Regions from separate parts of the Homo sapiens genome. Here regions 1 and 3 are each linked to region 2. The links are contacts of gene promoters, found by promoter capture Hi-C in blood cells and fetal thymus (Javierre and others, 2016). All regions are on one chromosome and are shown on one strand. The core of a region is centred on a gene start or on the middle of the fragment in contact, and the rest is flanking DNA. Distances in the headings are between cores, read along the strand shown. Region 1 overlaps SYT16 (synaptotagmin 16). Region 2 holds the start of LINC03033 (long intergenic non-protein coding RNA 3033). Region 3 overlaps SYT16 (synaptotagmin 16).

What was found. The method cuts DNA at HindIII sites, captures the fragments that hold promoters and counts their contacts. A CHiCAGO score of 5 or more calls a contact.
Region 1: a fragment that was not itself captured here is called in contact with the fragment with the promoter of LINC03033 in region 2 in 1 of 17 cell types (total B cells); the score reaches 5.3 in total B cells.
Region 3: a fragment that was not itself captured here is called in contact with the fragment with the promoter of LINC03033 in region 2 in 1 of 17 cell types (activated CD4 T cells); the score reaches 5.1 in activated CD4 T cells.

What each region holds. Positions count from the first base shown.
Region 1 is chr14:62,075,424-62,079,048 of GRCh38, reverse strand. The region is part of intron 5 of SYT16 (synaptotagmin 16); the gene reads right to left. Among named protein-coding and RNA genes, the nearest start is that of LINC00644, 63 kb to the left of the region's middle. The HindIII fragment of the contact is 2,372 bases long and covers 639-3,010 here.
Region 2 is chr14:61,569,100-61,572,957 of GRCh38, reverse strand. LINC03033 (long intergenic non-protein coding RNA 3033) reads right to left here and starts at 2,418. Exons shown (of 3, transcript NR_039985.1): 1 at 2,198-2,418. It overlaps LINC01303 (long intergenic non-protein coding RNA 1303), which reads left to right and starts at 2,305. Exons shown (of 5, transcript NR_110416.1): 1 at 2,305-2,472; 2 at 3,281-3,414. RefSeq lists a silencer at 3,128-3,320 and an enhancer at 3,712-3,858. The HindIII fragment of the contact is 753 bases long and covers 1,999-2,751 here.
Region 3 is chr14:61,859,517-61,863,674 of GRCh38, reverse strand. All of the region lies in intron 1 of SYT16 (synaptotagmin 16), which reads right to left. Among named protein-coding and RNA genes, the nearest start is that of SYT16, 49 kb to the right of the region's middle. The HindIII fragment of the contact is 728 bases long and covers 2,403-3,130 here.

The DNA.
Region 1 (3,625 bases), core at 575-3,074, 510 kb before region 2:
TTCTGACCATAAGTAATAATAGCTAACATCTACTAAACTATTTCTTATGCCAAATACCATATCAAATCCTTTACAGACTATAAAAATTGGCTCTTAAACACTTCAGATCTTCTTGGCCTTAACTCATGTTCCATCTTCCCCTAAGGCACAGCCTATATGGGCTCTAAGTAGTTTCAGCCTGGAACTACTCAATAAAGTCTTACCTTCTACCCACACAATATAATTCTCATTTCTTATCATTGGTCTCTCTGTCGACCGCCAAGGCTTAGACAGCTGCAGAACCCTGCTTGACACCAATATATGTGAAGTCTACTTTTTGCCCCGTAGTCAGTTGTCCTATCAGTTCATACAGCTTCTTGGAGTGTGATCACACAAGATCAGGCAATTAGCCATACTGAGTGGTGGCCAATTCAACTGTGTATTCTCACACTTGACCTCCCTTCTTCCCTGCCTTACTTCCCTTGTCTCGCACTTTTGTTCCCTGGGGTTGCACTCCCAAAGCAGGGAACAAAGCCTTTACGTAGGCTCTGCTTTTTTGAGGAACCCAACTAAGAAACATTATCTTTTTGAATATTTACATCAATGCAATGAGGTAGGTATTTTAATATCTTCATTTTATGGAGGACGAAACTCAAGCTTAGAAAGACTAAATAACTAACACGCTCTCTCCCCCCAAGCCCAGATCAAATTCCCAGACAAGATTATCCAGGACTCATGCCCTGGCAGTTTGAGTCCCAGGCCTGCCTTAACTCGTATCCAATACTCAAAATTTCAAACCTTATTTTGAAACATACAGTCTCCTTTCTTCTTCCCCAAACCTTTAGGCATAACTATTTCTACATATAGACATATGTGTGTGTGTGTGTGTGTGTGTGTTTATATATATATATATAGAGAGAGAGAGAGAGAGCGAGAGAGCACTAGAGAGAGAGAGAGAGAGAGCAAGCGCACAAGATGAAGGGGGAGAAGACGGAAGGTGGGGGTTGGAATCACACTCTCTGTGGTTTTCACATCCTTTGAGGCCCCTGCTCTTAATGTTAGTTAATAGCTCTTAGTTTTGTCAACTTCAATGCCAAGGTAAAAATATTTTAGTGAATGAGGAGCTCTCTCCACTTATGTATCAGGCTGTCTCTTCGGATAAATGCTCACTCCACCTGCAGGTTTCTAAGAGAGTCCTGGGTAGAGCTCCTGACTGTCCTAAGAACTCCTCTGAATAAACAGATCCTGCCAATGGCTGGGCTTTGGATAGGCCAATTCAAGCTGTGGCCCATGAAAACTGGGCTTTGTAGCCCCTCCCTGGGTTGATTTGAGAAAAAGATTTGTGAATGCTGGTATTTTCATAGCAATTAATTATTTCAACACACTTTACCTCTCACCAGGCAACTGAAGGAGCTCCTCACTTGGGTACTGTTAATACCACTAATCCATCTGACCTTCCTGCAAGGTAAAAATCTCTTCATTCTTATCCCCATTTGGCAGATTTTAATTAACTTCTCAAGGCCAACCAATTAATCAGTGGAAAGCAGAGATGAAAAGTGGGACACCTGTCTCCCTGTGTGCTCAAAATCACCAGCCACACTCCCATTGTCTTTCCTGCCAAGCCCTGGGTCTGCAGGAAAAAGCCAAAGGCCTTCGCCAGCAGAGAAGAGCAGAGCTCGAAAATCCATCAGCCTAACAGGTAGTCACACTGCACGACCAGTTTCCTGCTGAGACAAAATAAATGATTCCTTGAGCTCCAATATCCTGGGCTTTTCCTTAAGATGAGAATACTTGTGTCAAATTGTCAAAACCCAGGTAGGTTTAAAGATTTTCTGTCAAATTGAAAGCCTTTCTGTTTTAGTAAGATAGTGTTGATGTCATCTGTGTGGCCTAAAGTAAACAGGCCTACAATATGTTCCTGATGCCAGATACACAGGGGAAGACAGAGTTCTCAATACAGCTAAGAGGCAAATAAATCATTTCTTAAAAGGCAAGCTAAGCCTGCAAAGCAGGCAGTTACGGGAACTGCCTCCGAGTTGGATTTGAGGTTCTACTGTAGGAGCACCAAATTACAGTTTTTTCTCAAAATAGATAGGAGGTTGAATGGAGCACACAGAGATGTCTGGGTATTTTTGGAGTCTGAGAACATTTAGTACCCTCAATACCGAGTCTTCTATTAAAGCTCCAGCAGGCAGGTAAATGGGAGGTGACCTGGAGAAGTCACTTCCAAGCCTCATGGCACAATCACCAAGGAGACAGAGTATCAATAGGCAGGCAAATCATTTGGTCTGTTTTGTTTTTGGGAGAGAGATTCAAAATATTTTTTAAGAGTTAGTGTGTGGGATTTGATACGGCTTGGTAGTAAACTAACGGGTAAGCAGAGTTTTTTCTTTTTTTAAACAAAATGTATAAAGTTAATGGCTTTGGGTGCCTCCATATGAAGGGCTGCTTTTTAACAAGCCACAAACCACATATGTGAGCTACCATTTCTGGTCCTCAGCAGAGACATCTACACAGGGGCACAGATGTGTATGCATACCCCTCCTTAGATACTACCTACACACGCCAACATGTTAGCAGTTAAGGCTTGGAAACAGGGTTTTCTGTGATTCCTTTTTTTTTTTTTACCTTGAGCATTTAGCGTGTGTGACACTCCAAGTCCTAATAAGAGATGCATCCTGTTTATTTTCTCAAATGGATGCTAATAAAATCCATTCACCTCTCTCCTTCTTCCCCCATCCCTGCAAATTATATTAAAGGTTTATATATGTATATGACTTATTTCATCAAAATTAATTTCAAATTAGGTATTAAACACCATTCCTTAATGCCTTCCAATGTCACAGAATCATGATAGGAGGGATCTATCTAATGGAAAAATAACCGTAAGGGCCAGTAAAAGGAAACAATTTGGTAAAATCCTTATCACAGTGCCTGGCATATATTAACTGCTCAATAAATGGTAGCTACTACCATCATCACCTCCAGCCATATCTCTGGATTGATTGTTACATTTATTCTGGACTAAGCTTTACTTGAAAAAGAACTTTGGAAGAAGTATCTTTTATCAGAGATTTACTACAAAACCAATGTCAATGGCCAGAGGGGCATTACTGATTAATGCTGTCTCCTAGGCACAAAATATATTTTGTATATATTCACAGTGCAAGATCTGCATCATTACACCTTGTATAATTTCACTTGGAAGGCCATTTCATTTTAGTTCAATTTTCAAATAATTTTCATATCAAATAATCGTAACTTGAGATTTGGGCTAAATAAAAATAGACTCCACTTAATTGAAACCATGAAGTAAATAAACCAGTCCCTCTAAAGAACTGAAAATTCCATTATTTAAAATTAAGTCTATAAAAAGCCTTTATATAAAAGAAAAGCCTGGCTGTTCCTGGATCCATTCTGCCACCATTCTTATTTTTTTTTCTTTTTTTCTTTTTTTTTTTTTTTACCGTTCATCCTTTTTTTTCCATTTTGAGAGAAATTTATGACTCTTTTATTGACATGCATGGGATTTTGGTCATCTGGACAAAAATTTATTGCAGATAAAAGTAATGCTTCCTTTCTGGAATTTTTTTTTTTTTTTAGAGAGATGAGAAAGGAGAGTGGAAAGAGGGGAAGGGGAAAGGGA
Region 2 (3,858 bases), core at 1,169-3,668:
GCCAGGATGGTTTCGAACTCTTGACCTCAAGTGATCCATCTGCCTCGGCCTCCCAAAGTGCTAAGATTACAGGTGTGAGCCACTGCACCTGGCCCCCTCTGTACTTTTTAATTTTTATTCTTCTTTCAACGCTCAGCTCAAATGTCACTTCCCCTAAGAAGCGTTCCCTGAGGCTTCCCCTCCCCATACACGTTAGATCAGATAAAGCTCTTGTAATATTCTTGTAGAACATCCTATTCTTTTGCTTCAGGGCCTTTATCACAATTGATAATTATATACTTACTTTTACTTATTGAATTAATTCCCAGTCTCTCTCAGTAGATTACATGCAGTGTCTGTTTCACTTGCCATTGTATCTCTAATGCCTACTACAAGTGCCTGGCATGTAGCAGACACAACTGCTTGTGAATGAATGAATGGTCTCAGTGATTCTGTAAGGATGAAGGTGATGTAGAGTAGTAGATGGCAGCTCTACTCTGGAAGTCCAGAATACTGCTCTGATTCACACCTGCAAGCCTTATTGGTCAATGACTACTGATATTCCAGCCACCCAAACAACTGCTTTCGGAGAAGCATTAATACCTGCGAATAAAACAAATCTATTCGTTTCATACATTTGGTTCAGAACACTAGGAGAATTTGAGAAGAGACGAGCCAGCCCCAAGCTGTCCTTGTTTCTTTTATTAAGAATAGGCCATGATTTGAGCACATTCTACTACTTGCCTCACTTCAGCCTATTGATGGGGGAAAAGTGAGAGTCTGTGTGTGGGGACTCTGGCTTGGCAGTGAGATCTAACACAGAAAGATCCTGAAGAAATATGCTGACAATGGGGTTTTATCTCTTCAATGCACTGGAGACAAAATCCCTGCTTTTAAAAACAACACTCATACAGAGCCAAGGATGTCCCAGAGTGAACAGTCCTAACCCTTTCTCAGCCTGCCTAAGAGCTCGTTGGTTTCAGAAGGATGAGCCAAGGACTGCTACTTAGAGACTACTGTCTAGGTCAACCCAACTGGCATAAGTAAAGCACCTACTGTTTATAGTAGGAGGCTGCAAGATAACAGGAGATGCAGACTATTGAAGGCTACTGATCTATCTGTGTAGACAGGCAAGAATAAAACAACTGGAGAAGAAATCCAGGATTACACAAAAAGAAGAGCGTGATGGTATGGTAGACTACTCCAGAACAGTGAATTTCCCCTGCATTAAGGATGAGATCCCTATGAATTGGGATCATTCAGGAAGTCTTCTTGGAGAAGAAAAGTTTGAGCATATGGGGAAAAAAAGTTGGATTGGCAAAGAGCTGAGCTGTCAGTAGCTGGGTCCTTAGTAAGTAGGCTGCATGGAGCTGGGAGTTATGCTAAAGGAGTTGTAATTTGGGATGCCTCTAATTAACCATTTTGGGAAAAATATAATAAATCCCTTTGTAGCATCTATAATAAACTGCCCAATATCTATGTGGTGGGGAAAAAGTTTTATTCTACGTTTCACGTGGATGGTGATAACACTAGGTAATCTCAGCATCTTTCTTATTCTCTTGCTAATCCAGGATTCTAAGTAATAATCACTTTGTTCTACAACCTGAATCTAGCCCTTGTACTGTGCAGTTTTTTTCTACACTTATTTTTCCTGTTGTCTGAATCAATCTCCATGGAAGCATAAGTTTTACTGAGTTTCAACCAGCTGTGTCCACCGAGGTAAAGATGGTAAAAATAAAAGGCACAGGGCATATATACCACAGCAGCAGTTACTTCCCACAAGGAACCAGAGATTGGAAGTGAAGCTAAAACATTTTCAGCTACGATAGCATCTCTTTCAAGGTGAGCCATTTCCCCAGGGAGAGTTTCCAGCTCTTAGCAAAGGCAGAACAATAAAACATCAAGGATGTCTTTCTAAGGCTGCAAACAGAATAGCCAATACCTTGAAGCTGATCTGCTTCAGAGTCCTTTAAAAGCCAGGACAGCAACAAAGTGCCCACATTACATTTTCTACAAGCTTGCTAAGCATCTCTTTTCCTAAACCACAAAACCCGAGACATTTCTACAGAACAGGCAGAAAGGGAAGTCCTGGGAGATCAGGGCCCTGTCTCAGCAGGCATCACTCCAGCCTGTCTTTTCCCGAGTGGTTTTCTGCACTTCTCTTCCATCTTTTCCCCTCTGTCCCACACTGGAAGTCACTAGTCTGTGCCCTCCTTACCTCCCATGGTTTCTGCACCTTCATTTCCAAAGGCAAGTGAAAACAGTGCCAGGCTGCGCACATGGGTTACTCCAGGGACTTCTCTTCCCGTTTCCCCTAAAGCATTTGACAGTTAGATCTTGGAACTGAGTCCAGCAGCACTGAGGTCAGAGAGATGGCTAAAGCTAAAAGCAAACTGGATGCTGTTCAGGAGGTTCTCCTTTGTCATTTTTATCTCCAAATAGAAGACCTCTGTTTTCCCAGAAGATTAAATAGTAGAAAAGAAGTAGCCCAAGGTGGGTGACTCTGCAAACAGGTGGGTGAGGTCTCTAGTTGAGTGAGGGGGTGTCTGTGGGTTGTGGGTTCTTCTTATGAGCAGAGCTTGGAGGAATTTGTTCTATTTGTTGTGGTTTTCCCAGGGGGAAGTCGGGGGTGGCTGGGACTCTAATGATCATTATCAGAAGACTTTGGATTAGGCCTCTGAAACTTTAAGATGTGGATCCTCTCGCAATCATGTTAAAATGCAGATCTCCTTTCAATAGGTCTGGGACAGAGCCTGGCTTTTCTATAAAGCTTCTGGTGATGGGATGTCGCTGGTTCTCAGCCACAATTTGAGTAGCAAGAGGTTAGCTTTTCTACTTACTGCCTTCATATCCCCAGTTGGGCTATGTCGTTTTATCAAAACAATGTGGTAAGAGTGAGCGCCAATTACTAGCCTGTTGAATCATCCATTGTTAGAGCTGTTTCTTTGAGGTACATTTAAGAGGCCCCTCCCTGTGGTTCCCCATTGCACAAGAAGCCCATTTGCCAGGCAATACCTTGGGCAAGCAAGCCACTGTGCAAAATTGCATTGGCTCTTCCTGCTGCCAGCCAGGCGGCTGCTGGTTGACGTTGGAGTTGTACAGTTTATGTGATAGTGATGACAGCGCTGGCTCTGAAGGGTACTGAAGATTTTGAAGGGGTACTTCGCTGCAGCAGCTTCACCTCTCACTTTTGTTTACCCACCCCCGAGGCTTGTGGGAGAGAAGGATCAGGCAGAGCTCTGCACGTGCCATGCCAGGGGTGGAGGAATTATATTTTTATTTTTTGCTTTCTCTGCTACAGGACATACCATGCCTTTTACAGATATTTATAGGACAATTTCCCTCCTGAGAGTGCCCAAGCATGGGGGATGGTGAGGAAGATGACTGAAGGAGAAAGCAGGAAAAGGGGGTGTCTGCATGTATGAGGATTGGAAGGTGGGGAAAACCCTTCGTGTTTGGTTCAGCCTTCAAGAAAGAGGAGGGGTTGACTAGATTACAGATGTTAAACCAGGGGTCTGTGGTTCAAACCAGCAACTCTCTGCCCTTGTAAGCTGTATCTGGCTGGTGTGTTAATTTGTCTAGGGTAAGAGCCCCTAGGTTTCAACAGATTGTCCTAGAGTCAATGATACACAAAAGGTTAATCAGCCTCATTTCCAATCAGGATCATCTGCAAGTCCCTCCCAGAGCAGATATTTGGAGCACTAGGCTTCTAGAAGCAGCAGACATCAAGTTCGGGCCATGGGATTAGGGTGGACAGGGCAGCCACTTGGAATCATTTTCTACCAGAGGCAGAAGAGGCTCAGCTAGCAACAGCCCCATTTTACAGAGCAGAAGCCGAGCTGCAGTCAATTCAGTGATTCCTCCTAAAGTAGGGAGTCA
Region 3 (4,158 bases), core at 1,517-4,016, 290 kb before region 2:
TTACATGCGGCAGCAAAGGCACAATCCACAAAAGAAAGAATTGATAAGTTGGACTTTATTAAAATTAAATCTTTCCGCTCTGTGAAAGAGAAAGTCAAGTGAATGAGAACATATGCCACAGACTGGAATAAGATATTTGCAAAACACTATCTGATAAAGAACTGTTATCCAAAATATACAAAGAACTCTTAAAATTCAACAGTAAGAACACAAACAACCTGATTGAAAAATGGGCCAAAGAGCTTTACAAACACCTCACCAAAGAAGATGCGCAGATGGCAAATAAACATGTAAAAAGATGTTCCAGATTATATGTTGTCAGGGAAAGGTAAATTAAAACAATGAGATACCATGTATAAGAATAGCCAAAATCCAGAACACTGGCAACACCAAATGCTGGAGAGGTTGCGGAACAACAGGAACTCTCATTCACTGCTGGTGGGAATGCAAAATGGTACAACCACTTTGGAAGACGGTTTGGAAGTTTCTTAACAAACTAAACACACTTTTACCATATGATCCAGCAGTCATTCTCCTTAGGATTTACCCAAAGGACGTGAAAATATATGTCCACACAAAAAACTGCACATGAATGTTTATAGCAGCTTTACTCATAATTGCCAAAACTTGGAAGCAACCAAGATGTCCCTCAATAGGTAAATGGATAAACAAACTGTGGTGAATCTAGACAATAGAACATTATTCGGTGCTAAAAAGAAATAAGCTATCAACCCATGACAAGCCATGGAGGAAATTTAAATGCATATTACAAAGTGAAAGAAGTCAATCTGAAAAGGTTATATCCTGTATGATTCCAACCATATGACATTATGGAAAAGACAAAAACTGTGGAGACAGTAAAAATATCAGTAATTGCCAGGGGTTAGAAAGGGTAGAAGGACGAATGGACAGAGCACAGAAAATGTTTAGGGCAGTGAAACTACTCTGTATGATACTATAATGAATACATGTCACTATACATTTGTCCAAACTCAGAGAATGTACAACACCAAGAGTGAACCTTAATGGACTCTGGATGATGATGATATGCCAGGGTAGGTTCCTCAGTGTTAACAAATGTATCAGTCTAGTGGGAGATGCTGATAGTGAAGAAGGCTGTGCATGTGTAGGGGCAGGGCATGGGTGGGAAATCCCTGCACCTCCCCTTCAATTTTAGTGTGAACCTAAAACTACTCTAAAATATGTCTACTTTTTAAAAGGGAATAAACATTGATGCACACAAGAACAATGATGAATCTCCAAAGCATTATGTTAAGTGAAAGAAGCCAGACACAAAGGATGACATATGATATGATCCCATCTATATAAAATTTTAGAGAAGACAAAACTATCATGATGGAAAGCAGATCACTGGTTTCCAGGGTCCGGGAGGTGGGAGAGGAGACTGACTGCAATGGGCGACAAGGGAAATTTTTTGGCATGAGAGAAATGTTCTACAAGATGAATGTGGTGGTAGTTTCAAAACTACACACTTGTCAAAAGTTATAGGATGGTACACTTAAAACTGGTGAATTTTTGCATGCAAATTATACTTTCATAAAGCTATAAGAATATAACAATAAAGCACACATAACTCACTTTATTGCGCTTCATTTTATTGTGATTTGCAGATATTGTGTGTGTTTTTTTTACAAATTGAAAGTTTGTAGCAACCCTACATCAAGCAAGTCTGTCAGCACTATTTTTCCAAAGTATGTGCTCACTTTGTGACTCTGTGCCAGTATTTTTTTAGCAATAAAGTATATTTCATTAAGGTAGGTATTTTTTTGGATATGATGCTATTGTATACTTAATAAACTATAGCATGGTGTAAACGTAACTTTTATATGCACTAGGAAACCAAAACATTTGTGTGACTCACTTTATTGAGATACTTGCTTTATTGCAATAGGCTGGAACTGAATCCCCAGTATCTCTAAAATATGCCTATGTAAGAATTCTATCAAACAGGCTGGGCATGGTGGCCCATACCTGTAATCCCAGCACGTTGGGAGGCCAATGTGGGCAGATTGCTTGAGCCCAGGAATTCGAGACCAGCCTGGGCAACATGCCAAAACCCCCTTTCTACAAAAAATATAAAAATAAGCCAGGCATGGTGGCACGTGCCTGTGGTCCCAGCTACGTGGGGGGCTGAAGCAAGAGCCTGAGCCCAAGAGATCAAGGCTGTAGTGAGTCATGTTTGCACTGCACTCCAGCCTGGGCAACAGAGGGAGACCCTGTCTCGAAAACAAAAAGGAGATTATCCGAAAGAAAGTAAAAGGCATCTGTGATTCAACCATCCAGATACTACCACAGTTAAGACTTCTGTGCATTAAAATGTTTATATTTTTACCAAAAAAAATTAGTAAATTTTGCCACTTAATTTTGCAAATTGGTAAGCTTTTTTCACTTAAGATATCCTGAACATTTCTGTGCCCATAAAGAAATAGAATGACAACATGAGCTCTAATGGCTACAAAATAGTCCACTGGATATATACAAAATAATTAATTCAGATTCCCTCCCAGTTGGTGAGCAGTATTGTGATGAATCTCATTATCAGAAATCCCACTCTCTGATCACCACCTTCCATACTTCTAGTTCACTCCTTGCTGGTCCTACATTCCAACTCCAGCCAACTTGATTCTTCCTGGTCCTAGATTCCATCCATCCTACCACTTTCGTCACTGCCTCTCACCCTCCTCCGATTGCTTTCTTCTTCCCCCAGCTTAAAATGCCATGGTCAGTCTCCGTACACCTCACTTGAATACTTCCTCAACACTTGCATCTTCCCACTGCATTAGGCCCACTTAGCAAAACCACACCCTGGTAAAATCCAACACTGCCTGTATCAACATAGCTAAACAAGGCTGGAGAAAAACACTCTTGAATCGAATGGCCTCACATGAAATTCATGGCCTCAAGCCTCAGGTGGATCCTCAATGTAGTGCAGCAATCTTTCTACTTTTCCCTACTCCATTTTCTCCCATTCTCTTGGCCCAGTGCCTCTTAAACTATCTGCTGTGAGGACTAGATGTTTTTATTTCCAATCTATTATAGACCAATACTTTTTAAAAATACAATAAAAATGTTACAGCAATGTCAAGTGCTATAACAGTTTCTAAAAGCTTGCTCTCACTTTCTGTACTCATCTCCTGGCAAGTCAGTAACCAAGGGCTCCCCAACTGGCCACTTTGTGCACTGCAGTCCTAGATGACAAATCTCAAATTGCCAGCACCTCCCCACCTTATTCACTCTGAGTTGATCATCTTGCTTCCTCTTTCACTAAAAAGGAATGAAAGACAATCAGTTCTTACTGATATGCAAATGATGTTTACAAAGGTTATTACTACACTCCTATAATTGCTTCTGTGCTGCTTTGCAAAAAATGAAAACTAAAAATAAATCACACCCAAACAAATACAGGCTAGAATGGTTTGTTGTTGTTGTTGTTGTTGTTTGGAAAGAAGCAGTTCTTTCAAAGTAGCTTTGTTACTTGTACCAAACTGTAAACATAAAACCTTTGTGCAACCTAGAGTGACTTTTTCCAAAGATTGTTACCTATTTCAAGGTGGAACCATTAAAACGTACTGAACCACAGTGGAAAAGACAACTATTGAGCCTAATTGAGGAGAAGGGTACTGTTTATTTCTGTGGCAACTGTATGTGGGTATATGGACAAGGTCTGTCATCTATTTAGGGACTTGTTTTATATGTCCCCGACCTTATCCACATCTTTTTGTTTTCTTTTGAATGTACTTTTCCAAACAAAGAATTATAAAATTATTTCAACCTTAGAACCTTAAGATGCCTTCAAATGGATTTATGTTAGTCTTTAGGGAGTCAATGTGTTGCTGCTTATTATAATATAGTTCGCTTGGAGCCCCAAGTGTGCCAATGTCCTCCCCACACTTCCCAGATGCCTTCATCTTCCTGTGAGCACTTGAGCTAGGAATCTCAGGTGACTTAATTTGGTTTTCCAGTGCTGAGGAGGCTACATTGTCTGGGGTATATATCCAGGGGCTCACCATTTGGCATTGGAAAATTTAGGACACAGACACAAGGAGTTTGTGTCTGTGTCCTAAACCTTTAGGAGTAAAGGTTTAATAGGCAGAAGAAGAGAAACAGCTCTCTCTGTCGAGAGAGAGAGGGGTTTTC